Regions from separate parts of the Homo sapiens genome. Here region 1 is linked to region 2. Evidence: promoter capture Hi-C in 16 types of primary human blood cells and fetal thymus (Javierre and others, 2016). All regions are on one chromosome and are shown on one strand. The core of a region is centred on a gene start or on the middle of the fragment in contact, and the rest is flanking DNA. Distances in the headings are between cores, read along the strand shown.

The links. The method cuts DNA at HindIII sites, captures the fragments that hold promoters and counts their contacts. A CHiCAGO score of 5 or more calls a contact.
Region 1: a contact is called between a fragment that was not itself captured here and the fragment with the promoter of C2CD4A in region 2, in 1 of 17 cell types (M0 macrophages). The highest score is 5.0, in M0 macrophages.

Annotation. Positions count from the first base shown.
Region 1 is chr15:62,684,330-62,691,493 of GRCh38, forward strand. TLN2 (talin 2) reads left to right here. Exons shown (of 59, transcript NM_015059.3): 12 at 2,312-2,467. LOC105370855 (a long non-coding RNA gene) reads right to left here and starts at 3,696. Exons shown (of 5, transcript XR_007064673.1): 1 at 3,490-3,696. RefSeq lists an enhancer at 6,151-7,005. The HindIII fragment of the contact is 3,092 bases long and covers 1,256-4,347 here.
Region 2 is chr15:62,062,467-62,069,010 of GRCh38, forward strand. C2CD4A (C2 calcium dependent domain containing 4A) reads left to right here and starts at 4,511. Exons shown (of 2, transcript NM_207322.3): 1 at 4,511-4,622; 2 at 5,119-6,544. The coding sequence starts at 5,148. The coding sequence ends at 6,257. RefSeq lists enhancers at 4,165-4,334, 4,735-5,250 and silencers at 4,324-4,618, 5,481-5,530, 5,661-5,800, 5,851-6,340. The HindIII fragment of the contact is 6,406 bases long and covers 407-6,544 here.

The DNA of each region.
Region 1 (7,164 bases), core at 1,552-4,051, 620 kb after region 2:
ACCCTGTGTGACTAAATTAGCTGCCTAGAGCCTATCAAGCTAAAACTCTGTGTGGCTCCTGAAGCCAAAGTAGATTAACTGACATTGTCTGCCCTGCACTGATCTCACCCCTTGTGGAACTGCCCTCTCTTTGAAAAAAATCTGACGCTTGTCAGTGTTTTTTAAGACTTGAGGTTCAGGGAGGAATATTCCCCTCCTCAGACACCCAGGTAGATTCCTCATACCATGGTGTCCTCCGTGAGGAAGCTGGGGGTGTGCGGTGACTGTCACCATCTGAGGGTTACCAGATGCCCATGGTGAGGGCGGTTGGGGGTGGGTAGGATTTGGCCTTTTCTCTTTTTGCTTCCACCAGAAGACAGTAAACTGCAGTAGACAGTCAGCTTTTGAAGTCAGAGATATTTTTGAGCTACTCAAATCTATGTTCAAATTATGGCTTTACCACTCACCACTGTTGGCTTTGGTCTCTTCACTTGCAAAGTGAAAAATGATGATACCAGTGTTTTGGAGATGCTCTGAAGATTAACAGATGGTGCTTATTAAGTATCTAGTATGTTCCAGCTCTGTTTTATGTGCCATTACCCTGTGTTGGGTGTGTGTAGACACATCCACAAATGCATAGATACTTTGTGTGAATGTATATATCTAGGCCTCTGAGAATAGCAGTTTAGGTGTTGTTGCTAGGTTTCAGCAAATATGAGTTGAAAAGGTTTTCCTGACAGCCCTAAAAATACACACTTAATAGTGAAATTTTGGAAATAAGGAAAAGCATGAAAAAATAATACAAAACACATGAGATGTTCAGTGCCTTTTTCATGTAATGGACATAGGCCTATTTTTAAATTTTTATTTCCTCTAAGATTAGGCCCTATATTCTGTTTTTTAATAATATATTATGAATAATTTACTTCCATAAAACCAATTGTTTTTCTACAATATGATTTTTAATAATGTAGGGTAATCTGTTATCTGGATATATCATAATTTATGTATCAAGTCCTGTGTTATTGAAAACTTGGATTGTTTCATCTACAGCCATACCACCCTGAATGGGCCTAATGTTGTCTGAAAATTGGGTGGTTTCTAGCTTTTCACTATGATGTACTGTGGTTGAGCTTCATGTGGCATAATCTTTACACACATTTATAACTTTTTTTTAAACTAAATTTCTCAAAGCTAGCTGTGTCAAAAGTAAGGACTTTTTAAGGGTTTGGATAGATAGTGACACATTTTCCCCCATGAAGGCTTTGCTATCTTAAGCTTTCATCACTAGTGACCCGCTTCACATCTTCCTCAAATCTGAGTATTAATTTTAATAAGAAACCTTAGCTATTTTAAGTGAAAACTTATTTGCTTATTTATTTTAAAAACATTTTCTGTTCATATTCTTCAGCAGTTATTTTGTTGATTTATGAACACATCACATAGACAGTATATGAAGTCTATTGCCATTACATTCATTGTAAATATTTATTGCCCAGTCTTTTTCATTTTTTATGAGGTTTCTTTAGCTTCTGCTCTCCTCCCCCTGGTCTATCAAAAGTATGTATATTTTGAGTTAAGCATATTAATCGTTTCCTTTATGGCTTCTTATGTTGGTGTTTTTCTTAGGAAATCATTTGTCACCCAAGGATCACAAAAATATCCACTTGGATGTTCTTCCTAAATTATTAATCTGTCTCTGTCTTTAATTTGTTTTGGTATGAGTGTGAGCTAGGGTTCCATTATTTTAATAGACATTACTATATCTTAAAACATTATTAAAACTAGTTATAAAATAAGTTTTAAGAATCAGTAGATATACAAAATTCCAAAACAAAGAATCCAAACAGAAATATATTTCAGAGATTTAAAAAAAAGGGCAGGAAGCTGTGTCTCCTCATAATGAGAAGATTCTACTTTGACAGAGTTTTAGTTAAGTTAATTTTAAATCTCAGATTAACCCTTGTTTGTTACTCACTGAGTTGGCCACTGGGAGTGATAGTACCTGGAATTCACCTTTGCTTGTTTTTCTCTGGATGTCTTTTCAGTTCTATCCCATCTTTCTGGCATCGTCTGTTTTTGGAGCAAGCTGCTCTCCTGAACAGGGGGCATGATTTTGTGGCTCTTTCCAGTCTTCTCATGTCTTTGTTTGAGTTCCCATGCCTTTAGTTTAATGAGTTATTCACCTAGCCTCAAAATCTTGGTTTCCCTATAGCCCTACCTGTTTTGAAAGACAGTGTATGCAGGTGAAAGGTCAAAAAATCACTGATTCCCTGGCAAAGTCAGATGTATTCAGAAGAAGAGCACTGACTCTTGGTATCTCCTGTTTCAGGAGAAGATGAAAGGCAAGAACAAGCTGGTGCCTCGCCTGCTGGGGATCACCAAAGACTCGGTGATGCGCGTGGATGAGAAGACCAAGGAAGTGCTGCAGGAGTGGCCCCTCACCACCGTCAAGCGCTGGGCAGCCTCACCCAAGAGCTTCACACTGGTAGGGACTGGCAGAGGGCAAGGAGAGCACTAGCGTGGCCTTGAGTGATATTGTGGGGACAGGAGAAAGACCAGATTCTTGCCCATTGGGTTTCTCTGGCCTGGGAGAGCCAGCGTGGAGTGAGGAAGATGGTGCAAGCCCATGGGCAGGGAAGGGGATGGGTCCAGAAGTAAAAGAGAGGTCAGCAAGCCTGGGTTTCTTCAGGCACTACTGCTTCTCTGCACTCTACATAAGTCAGCCTCTAGTTCATTATCTAGAAAAAGCCACTCACCCAGATGATTCTCAGTTCTGTGTTCCTGATGACATCCCTAGCATATACTGAAAGGAAACTTTCTAGTGCTCTGAGACACAAAGGCCCCCTCTCTGTTTTAGATGGTCCTAAGCATTGTGATTATCTTGCTGAGGAATGTTTTCCCAGCCTGCCTAGAAAGAGAGCATAGTACACAGTGGAAATAACGTGGACTTTAGGATAGTATTATTATAGAAATCCAGTTTGTCATTTCCCAGCTGTGTGACCTTGTTCAAGTTACCTTTCCTCTCTGAGCCTTAATTTCTTCAGCTATAAAATGGTGATAGTCCTACCTACAGAGCTGCTAGGATTGAATAAGATGAAGATAAGATGCTTAGTATAAAATTTATGGAAAGTAGTGAGAATATGTTTGTTTCAGGTCTTCAGACCTCTGAATTCTTCCTCCTGATTTCAACATTTGTTGTTAGCAGAGTATAACTCTATGCCTTAACTATAGCCACATTTACATGTGAAACACAATAGAGCGGGTGGTTGGTAGGGCAAGATGTGCAATAAGAAAAATCAAAAAGTGCTAGAATTTGTCAGTTCTTAAGACTCTTGAAGTCTCTAGTGAATGCTTGAAATATCACCTCTTATCTATGCAAGATATCATAATAGGACATCAGAAAAAAAACTGTGTAAAGAAGGGGCCATGGAAAGAGTCATTAGTTATCTAATTTGACTATAGATTGATAGGTTCCTGCCAATTATAAGGAATCATCAGAAAACATACCTTCTTTCCTCTTGTAGCTGTAACATTTGTGCCTGTGTGGCCCTCAAAAGATGAATGTTCATACTTAGCTGTGTCCTCATCTTCCATTGCAGGAAGTCATGGATGATTTCTAAATTAGAAAAATCAAGAAATCAATATAAACATATTATTTAGAAATACTAGAAGCAACTGCTAAAAGAGTTGAAAGTGGTTACCTTTGGAGAGGTATGTGGTAGAAAGTGAAGTTGGGAATGGGTAGGACAGGGAACAACTGTGTTTTGTTTTACATCTTGTAATACTATTGGTCTTTTTAAACTAGGTCCAAGTATTTATTGAAAACAAAAATTTATTTAAAAAATGAATAGTTATGATAACCTCATTAACTACCTCAGGCAAAAGAGAGAATAACAGTATTTTGATTAAAGCATAACGTCACATTAAAGCCCATTATACGTAGTGATTTTTTCCTTCCTACTCCTAGCCTTTATTTAATTTCCAAGTGTTTAGAGGTTTTTCTGCTGTCTTTCTACTATTGATTTTTTAGTTTGATTCCATTATGGTCAGAGAACATACTCTGTATGATTTCAGTCCTTTTGAAATTTTAAGGTTTGTTTTTATATCCCAGGATATCCTTTTTGGTGAGTGTTCTACGAGTATTCAAAAAGAACATATATTCTGCTATTATCATGTAAAGTGGGCTCTATAAATACCAGTTAGATCCCTATTAGTTGATGGTGGTGTTCCAGTCTTTTGAATGAATATCTTTGTTAATTTTCTGCCTGGCAGTTTTCTCAGTTGCCGAGAGTGAGGTTCTTAACAGTAATTATGGATTTTTCTACTTTTTCTTTCAGCTCTCAGTTTTTGTTTCATGTAATTTGAAGCTTTGTTGTTTGATGCCTGTACATTTAAGATTCCTCTATCTTAACAGAGAAGTTGTTTTTTCCTTATGTAATGTTATTTTCTGTTAGTAATTTTTGTTTTTCTCTGAAGTCTACTGTATCTAATGTTGACATAGCCACCAATGCTTTTTATAAAACTAATGTGGGCATGATACATCTTTTTCCATCCTTTTATTTTCAACTTGCATATACTGTTATATTTGAAATGAATTCTTGTAGAGAGCATAATTAGTTGGGTTATATTTTTTTAATCCATTCTATCTCAGTTTTAATTGGTATATTTACACTATATTTAAGCTAATTATTGATATGTTAGGGCCCAAGTCTATCATTTTGTAGTTTTTCTGTTTGTCCACTTTATTTCTCTCTCTCTTTTTTTTTTTTTTTTTGCCTTTTCTGTGGGTTACTTGGACACCTTTTTAGAGTTTGTTTGCTTTGTGTGTTACGTTTTGAGCATATCACTTTGTGTAGTGTTCTTAGTGGTTATTTTGGATATTACCATGTCCATATGAAATTAAACACAGTCTACTGGTAATGGCTTTTCCCCCTTAAGTGTAGAAACCTTACTTCCATTTAGGTCTTTTTACCTACCCACTCCCCACACTTTTTGAGTATAATTATTTAAATATTTTTTCAGTATACACATAAGATGGTTATTTTGTCTATAACCACATAAGATGGTGTTACAGCTTCTGCTTTGAACACAAAATGTGATGAAAGAAACTCATGAGGTGAAGAACCGTCTATTACACTTCCCTTTATTTTTATCTACCCCATTGTTCTTCTTGCCTTTCTAAAGTTCCCAGCCTTCTTCTGTTATCATTTTGTGTTTGGAGAGCTTCCTTTAGCTATTTGTTAAGGGTACATCTGCTAGCAACAAATTGACTTTGTGTTTTTTTCCTCTGAGAATGTTATTATTTCCCCTTCATTCATGAAGGATAATTTTGCCAGGTACAGCATTTGGGATTGACAGTTCCTTTCTTTTAGTATCTGAAAAGTGTCATGCCACTTCTTTCTTACCTCCATGGTTTCTAATGATAAATTTGCTGTCATTCAAGTTGGTGTCAATTTGTAGGTAATATGTCATTTTTCTGTGGCTGTTTTTAAGATATTTTTATCTCTAGTTTTCAAAATTCTTGGTATGGGCTTCTTTTTTTTTTTTTTTTTTTTTTTTTTTTTTTATTGGCTGACCCCCCTTCCTCCCTCCCGGACGGGGCAGCTGGCCAGGCGGGGGGCTGACCCCCCCCACCTCCCTCCCGGATGGGGCGGCTGGCCGACCCCCCCACCTCCCTCCCGGACGGGGCGGCTGGCCGGGCAGAGGGGCTCCTCACTTCCCAGTAGGGGCGGCCGGGCAGAGGCGCCCCTCACCTCCCGGACGGGGCGGCCGGCCGGGCGGGGGGCTGACCCCCCCCCACCTCCCTCCCGGACGGGGCGGCTGGCCAGGCAGGGGGCTGACCCCCCCACCTCCCTCCCGGACGGGGTGGCTGCCAGGCGGAGACGCTCCTCACTTCCCAGACGGGGTGGCTGCCGGGCGGAGAGGCTCCTCACTTCTCAGACAGGGCGGCTGCCGGGCGGAGGGGCTCCTCACTTCTCAGACGGGGCGGCCGGGCAGAGACGCTCTTCACCTCCCAGACGGGGTCGCGGCCGGGCAGAGGCGCTCCTCACCTCCCAGACGGGGCGGCGGGACAGAGGCGCTCCCCACATCTCAGACGATGGGCGGCCGGGCAGAGACGCTTCTCACTTCCTAGATGTGATGGCGGCCGGCCGGGAAGAGGCGCTCCTCACTTCTAGATGGGATGGCGGCCGGGCAGAGATGCTCCTCACTTTCCAGACTGGGCAGCCAGGCAGAGGGGCTCCTCATATCCCAGACGATGGGCGGCCAGGCAGAGACGCTCCTTACTTCCCAGACGGGGTGGCGGCCGGGCAGAGGCTGCAATCTCGGCACTTTGGGAGGCCAAGGCGGGCAGCTGGGAGGTGGATGTTGTAGCGAGCCGAGATCACGCCACTGCACTCCAGCCTCGGCACCATTGAGCACTGAGTGAACCAGACTCCGTCTGCAATCCCGGCACCTCGGGAGGCCGAGGCTGGCGGATCACTCGCGGTTAGGAGCTGGAGACCAGCCCGGCCAACACAGCGAAACCCCGTCTCCACCAAAAAAAATACGAAAACCAGTCAGGCGTGGCGGTGCGCGCCTGCAATCGCAGGCACTCGGCAGGCTGAGGCAGGAGAATCAGGCAGGGAGGTTGCAGTGAGCCGAGATGGCAGCAGTACAGTCCAGCTTCGGCTCGGCATCAGAGGGAGACCGTGGAAAGAGAGGGGGAGGGAGACCGTGGGAGAGGGAGAGGGAGAGGGGGAGGGGGAGGGGAGGGGGAGGGGTATGGGCTTCTTAAGATTTCTTCTATTTGGAGTTCACTCAGCTTCTTGAATTTGTGGGTTTAAGTCTTCACTAATTTGGGGAAGTTTTCAGTCATTATTTCTTCAGCTACTCTATTTTTATCCAACACTGTCCTCTCCTGTTACTCTGATGATATTAATGTTAGATCTTTTGTTACTGTCCTATAAGTCCGTGAAGCTCTGTTTTTTAGTTTCTTTTCTCTATATTGTTCAGATTGACTAAATTCTGTTGATCTATTTTCAGGTTTACTGATTTTATTTTTTATTATCTCCACACTACTATTTAGTCTATCCTGTGAGTTTTAAAATTTTGGTTATTGCCTTTTTCAGTTCTGTAATTTCCATTTGGTTCTTTTTTATGACTTCTGTTTCTTTGTTTGAACTTTTTATTCTTTAAAATTTG
Region 2 (6,544 bases), core at 3,261-5,760:
ATGTGCTTTCATATGCATCATTCAATTTTATTATGTTTCAGTTATACTTTGTAAGGCCTCATGTCATTATTATGCGAAGGTAGGCATTTTTGTGTACTCCTCACAAAAGAGCTGTGAGGTAGCTAATGCAGGTAGTAGTATGGTCCTCATTTTACAGAAAAATTAAGCTCGGGAATGTTAAGTGACTTACCCAAAGTCACACAGCAGATATTAATTTCCTTTGATTCTCTGAGCACTGCCACCCTTTTCTCTTCTGGTAATTATACAATTTAATCAACACTGGGCTATTAGTCATTTTCAGAGATCTTACTTTGAAAGGTTCATGACAGAAAAAATAAATCTCAGAGTGGAAAATTTGGCTCTACATTTTTGGTACAAAAAAATGCTATTATCATGTAGTATAAAAAGCTTTAAATTTTACTATTTTCCATTTTCAGCATGTTTTAAGGGATTGATTATGTGCATTCAGTAATGCCCCAAATCTTCCATTATTTAACAAGTCAGAAATATACAGTCCCAATTTAAAACAAACTATAACCAATGTCAAGAAACACCATTAGCACCCTTATGTATGGCATTATATCAGAAATAATTTGGATAACAGAGGTTAAAGAAAATGAGCATTCTAATTAATTATAGTTCTTGCCTTCATTCTGGCTTAAGAACAATGAGAATGACAACAAAGGAAATTACAAAACTAAACTTCAATGAGGGACTAAACAATAAAAACAGATGAGCAAAGTATTTCTGTTAAAAACAAAAGTATAAGTTAGGGACACTTAAAAATTAACTCAAAAGTGTTTAAAAAAAAAAAAAAAACTTCACACTAACCACCACCCATACCCTATTCCCCAACCCTAGAGTTTTTGGAGAAAAGCAGAAGGAATTTGGGGGAAAGGAAATGGAGGAGAAAGCTGGAGTATAAGCCATGACACCATGGACTGCAGGAAAAGTTAGGGAGGTTAACTAGGAGAAAGCACGGGAGTGGATTTCAGAATGTTAGTGCCAGAGGGAGGATCATCCTGTTAATCCAGCCCCCTCAATTGACAGATGGAGACACTGAGTGCCAGGGAGAATTAAGGGTTTGCCCAAAGTCCCACAAGTTAGTGACTGTCAGAGCAAAAACCCAAACCCAAGTGTCCTGACTCCCTGCTCTGTATTCTTTCCAGTACCCCATACTCTAGTTGTGTTGAACAAGATGCATAAGTCAGAACACTGGTGTTTTATTGGTTGTAATCTCTCTTCTTGCTTTCCTTGACACTCAACCTCCTATATTTTTGTAAGTATGCTTTAAAATGTTTAATTTCCTTTTACTCTTAGAGCACCTCTGGTCTTGATGGTATGTGGTCTATTCATGCTCACTTTACAGAATTGTTTTCCAGCTCCAATACTGGATGTTCCCACAGCTACAGCTGGGAGCTTGGAACAGCCACTGTCTTCCTGTGAGTAGATTTGTGTGTTCCGGGCACCCTGTTACACCATTCTCCCAAGTACTGGGTGGTTGGTTCGTGCTTCCGAGTTAAGTAAAACATAAGGCTTAACAGGGTCACAGGGACCAGCCACGCAATGGCAAATCTCTGCTATTTTCAAAAAATCATGTACAGGAAATGCTATTAAGGTGTTACTAAAGAAGGTGAATCATTAATAAAAACAAAGTAGATCTGCTTTGCTTGCCTGAGGAGAAAAATGTTTTTAAAGGAATCCATGTATGAATCAGCTAATCCCTGCCCAAGCAAACATTCATAATAAAATGATAGTAATAATAATAACTGTTAGCTAGTGTTTAACTGCCAACCAAGCATTTTCATGCATATCTTTTTAACCCCCACAACAATCTTAATGTGGTCGGTATTATTACCCTCATTTTATAACTTGAGCTCAGACAGGTTCATTAACTTGCTTAACAACTTTTCAGCCAACTTCTCAGACTGTAAACTCTGATCTGTGCTCCTAATCACTTTAACCAAGAGCTCTCAACAGGGCTAACAACATTCTTGTCTCCCAGGAAAAGCTGAGTCAGAACACATGCACATGGCCCTCAAGTATATAATTTGATAAAACTTTTCCCATAGATTTAGCCCTGGCCCAAGAATTTTGGCAAAGAGTAGAGGTGATTTCAAGACAAAGAAGTAGGCTGGGCTTAGTGGCTCGCACCTGTAATCCCAACACTTTGGGAAGCCGAGGCTGGGGGATCTCTTGAGCCCAGGAGTTTGAGACCAGCCTGGGCAACATGGCAAAATCCCATGTCTATAAAAAATATAAAAATTAGCCAGGTAGTGGTGCATGCCTGTAGTCCCAGCTACTCAGGAGGGGGACATGGGAAAATCACCTGAGCCTGAGAAGTTGAGGTTGAAGTGCCCTTGATTGCACCACTGCACTCCAGCCTGGGCATCAGAGTGAGCCCCTGTCTCAAAAAAAAAAAAAAAAAATAGCTATTCAAGGACACAGTAAATCCAGAGACCCACCAATCCTGCCCCCTACTAGAAACATATAAGTAATGTTCAGGCCAGGTACAGTGGCTCACACCTATAGTCCTAGCACTTTGGGAGGCTGAGGTGGGCGGATCACTTTGAGCCCAGGAGTTCAAGACCAGCCTGGTCAACATGTTGAAACTCCATCTCTCCAAAAAAAAAAAAAAGTTAGTCGGGCCTGGTGGCTCATGCCTGTAGTCTCAGCTACTTGGGAGGCTGAGGTTGGAGGATTGCTTGAGCCTAGAAAGCAGAGGTTGCAGTGAGCCAAGATTGTACCACTGCACTCCAGCCTGGGCAAGAGAGTAAGACCCTGTCTTAAAAATAAATAACTAAATAAATAATGTTCGGTAGTCTCTTCTCACGCCTGCCTCACCCAGATGGAATTCAAATAGTTTATCCTCATCATTTTACTCCATCATTTATGGATTTACATAGCTGATATGATCTTGTACAGCCAACCTGTATCCACTTGCCTAACATGATGGCTGGAACCTAGAAAACATTCAGTACATGTTACTTTGAATGAATGAACTAATGAGCATTTGCTCTCTTCTGTAATAATAATATTATATCCGACATTGTGTATGTCATGCCCTATGCTGAACTCTTCATATTCACCATCTTACTTTATACTCATGATAACCGTATAGGTTGACACTATTATTAATTTTAAATTTGATACTGTGGCTTAGAACAGTTAACTTGCTCAAGGTCACATAGCAACCATTCTGGCATTAACAGTAGATCCAATTTCAGACCCAATTTTCTTAACCACTATACTTTACAACTTTCCTTCTATCTTTATTAATAATAATCAGTTCTATGTATTTAGCACTTACCATGTTACATGGTGCAAAATATTTTACATTATTATTTCCCCAAACAGCTCATTTATACCCATTAGTAGGTATGATTTCCTCCATTTCCCATCATTATGTGACCTTGGATAAGATACTTGACCTCTGAAACTGAGTTTTCATCTATAAAATAAGGATGATCCGAATATGCAGGGTTTCTGTGACAGTTCTACAGACTATATGTAAATCATCTAGCACAGTGCCTGTGTGTCCTGGAAACAAAATGCACATGCCCTATCCTGAAATCATTTTTGCATGAATTCAATTTAATTCATTAAATATTATTTAGACAAGTGAATAGTTTGCAAGGCAGTATCTTAGGCAGAAATATCTGCCTGAACGCTGAACAAAATGCCTCAGATCTCTTTCAGCCTGAGCTAACTGGAAGCAACTCTCTTACAAAATGAACACAGGTTAGTTTTCAAAAGGAAGGAAAAGGGTCTCTCTGGTGGGCACAGCCTAGAAAGGCCAGATGTAGTCAGGGCGCCTCCAAAGGATGATTCCAACTGCCCAGATGCATGCAAGTGTACATTTTCCCGATAAAAAATCAGCACACATGGCTTAAGAAGTAGATTGTGATTTTTTAAATTGATGTATAACATACAATAAAGTACTCTAATCTTAAGTGTACACTAGTTGATTGTTTTTACATATGGATACACCTCTGTAACTCCACCCTGATCAAGACATGAAATGTTCCCCCTAACCCAGAGGGGTTTATAATCAGAAAAGAACATCTAAAATCAGAACTGAAAACCGGAAAGCAAGTAAAGAACTTCGAAAGCTGGGCAACTGGGAAGCTGGATTTGGGGAAGGGTATTAGGCAAGAATAAGACAAACCGGACTTGTCTTCATTTTAATGGTGAATGTAGAGTACTTCTACGTGCTCACATTCATTACGCCCGTCGATCCTCACAATGACTCTGCGGTATAGTAGAGACTTAATACCATTTTGCATGTGAGGAAACAGAAACTTGTTCGGGGTTTCCGAGGAAAACACCTCCACCTGAAGCCGGAGAGAGAAAGAACTGGGTCTCCAAACCTTGCTCAGCAAATCCAGCCACGTGGCAGAGGGACAGGGAAGAGCCTGGCGTCAGGTTACCAGGCAGCGCCCCTCTGCTCGGCCCACTGGCAAGCGCTCCCAGCGGCAGGTATAAAAGCTCAGGCTGGCAGTCCTTGAACACTGGTGCTGAACCCCGCCGCGCGCGCTTTGAATTTCCCAGCCGCTAAGCGCCTCTCCTGGTCGGTGTCCCAGGCAGAAAGGTGCAGAGACCCATCTGACGCAGGACTCCAGGTATTTTAGGAGGGACCCATCGGCTTGCTTAATTCCCTGGGGGATTCGTCTGAGGCTCTTTGCCTCTGCAAGGGGAGAACCAGCCACAGTTTCCCGGAAGGAATAACAATTACTTTAATTCTAGCTGAGGACTAGACTGCTATGGTCCAAAGAGTCAGGAAACGATTGCAAGGCAATCGTTGGCACAGAGAACAGAGCGACTGAAGTTACAATCCAGCATTTTGTGAATCTCTGCCTTAGGCCAGCCAGGGCGGAGAGGGATTAAAACAAGCTCCGAAGTGTGTATTACAACACAGTTGAGATAGGACAAAAGAAAAACAGTTGTTTTTCGCTCACTGAAAAAATAGTTTGCAATAGCGGCAAGCAAGAGCAGTTTGCCTTGTTTCGGGAAAGGCAGGAAGAAACACCCCGAAAGTATTAATAGGAGAAAAGGAACAGGATTTACTGCACCTTGCGGGACTCGCTCTGACGATCCTTGTGCCTTTGTGCACTGCAGGTAGACAAGCTCCAGCAGAGAGTGGCCAGATGTGGTGCCTGGAGCGACTCCGCTTGGGTCCTGAGTGCCTTCGGCGGAGCGGAGACTGGCTTCTCCCGGGTCGGGCCCGCGGAGCCAAGTCTCGCACCACCGCCGCGTGCGCAAATGTGCTCACTCCGGACCGCATCCCTGAGTTCTGCATCCCGCCACGGCTCATGCCCCGCCTGGCCTTGGCTGCGCTCCGGAATTCTTGGGTCGAAGAAGCAGGGATGGACGAGGGCGCCGGCCGCACAGACTGGGACCCGCGCTCGCAGGCCGCGCTGTCACTGCCGCACCTGCCCCGTGTGCGCACCGCCTACGGCTTCTGCGCGCTGCTCGAGAGCCCGCACACGCGCCGCAAGGAGTCGCTCCTGCTCGGGGGCCCGCCCGCGCCCCGGCCCCGGGCCCACACCTACGGCGGCGGCGGCGGCCCGGACGCCCTCCTGGGGACCCTGCGCGTCCCGCGAGCTCCGGGCCCGGCGACCCCCGCGGCCCCCGGCTGTCCCCGCCCGCCCCAGGACGCGCTCGCCCGGCGGCCCCGCGGCTGCCGCCTCCTGCGCGTCCCCGACGGGCTGCTGAGTCGCGCGCTGCGGGCTGGGAGGAGTCGCCGCCTGACCCGCGTCCGCTCCGTCTCCAGCGGGAACGAGGACAAGGAGCGCCGCGCGGGCTCCCAGTCCCCGGCCCGGGCCCCCTCCACGAGCCCGCCGTCGTCCCGGGTCCCGTTTCCCGAGCGCCTGGAGGCCGAGGGCACCGTGGCTCTGGGCCGCGCCGGCGACGCCCTGCGCCTGGCCGCCGAGTACTGTCCGGGAACCGGGCGGCTCCGCCTCCGGCTGCTCCGCGCCGAGAGCCCGGCCGGAGGCGCCCCCGGGCCCCGAGCCGTCAGCTGTCGCCTCAGCCTCGTCCTGCGGCCGCCGGGCACCGCGCTTCGGCAATGCAGCACTGTGGTGGGGCGCAGCCGCAAGGCCTCCTTTGACCAGGACTTCTGCTTCGACGGCCTCTCGGAGGACGAAGTGCGCCGCCTGGCCGTTCGAGTCAAGGCCCGGGACGAGGGCCGCGGCCGGGAGCGGGGCCGCCTGCTGGGCCAGGGTGAGCTGTCCCTGGGCGCCCTCCTGCTGCTCTGAGGGCCCAGCCCTCCCCGGGGCGCTCTGCCCGGGGGACTCCGGACACTGACAGCCGCGTGGTACAAAATAAACGTGTATTTGTTGTTCTTATCAGTCCCGTTTCAGTACAACACTGGCAGAGATGATTCTAGATTAACTATCCCAGTAAAAGATATGATATTTTCCATAGATACCTCCAGAATTTTTTTCAGCAAATGGAATGGTTCTACAGTGTTTCCCAATATAGACAGCCATTTGCATACCATATGTACCACACACGCCTAGGAAATAATGAATCACATGAAGTG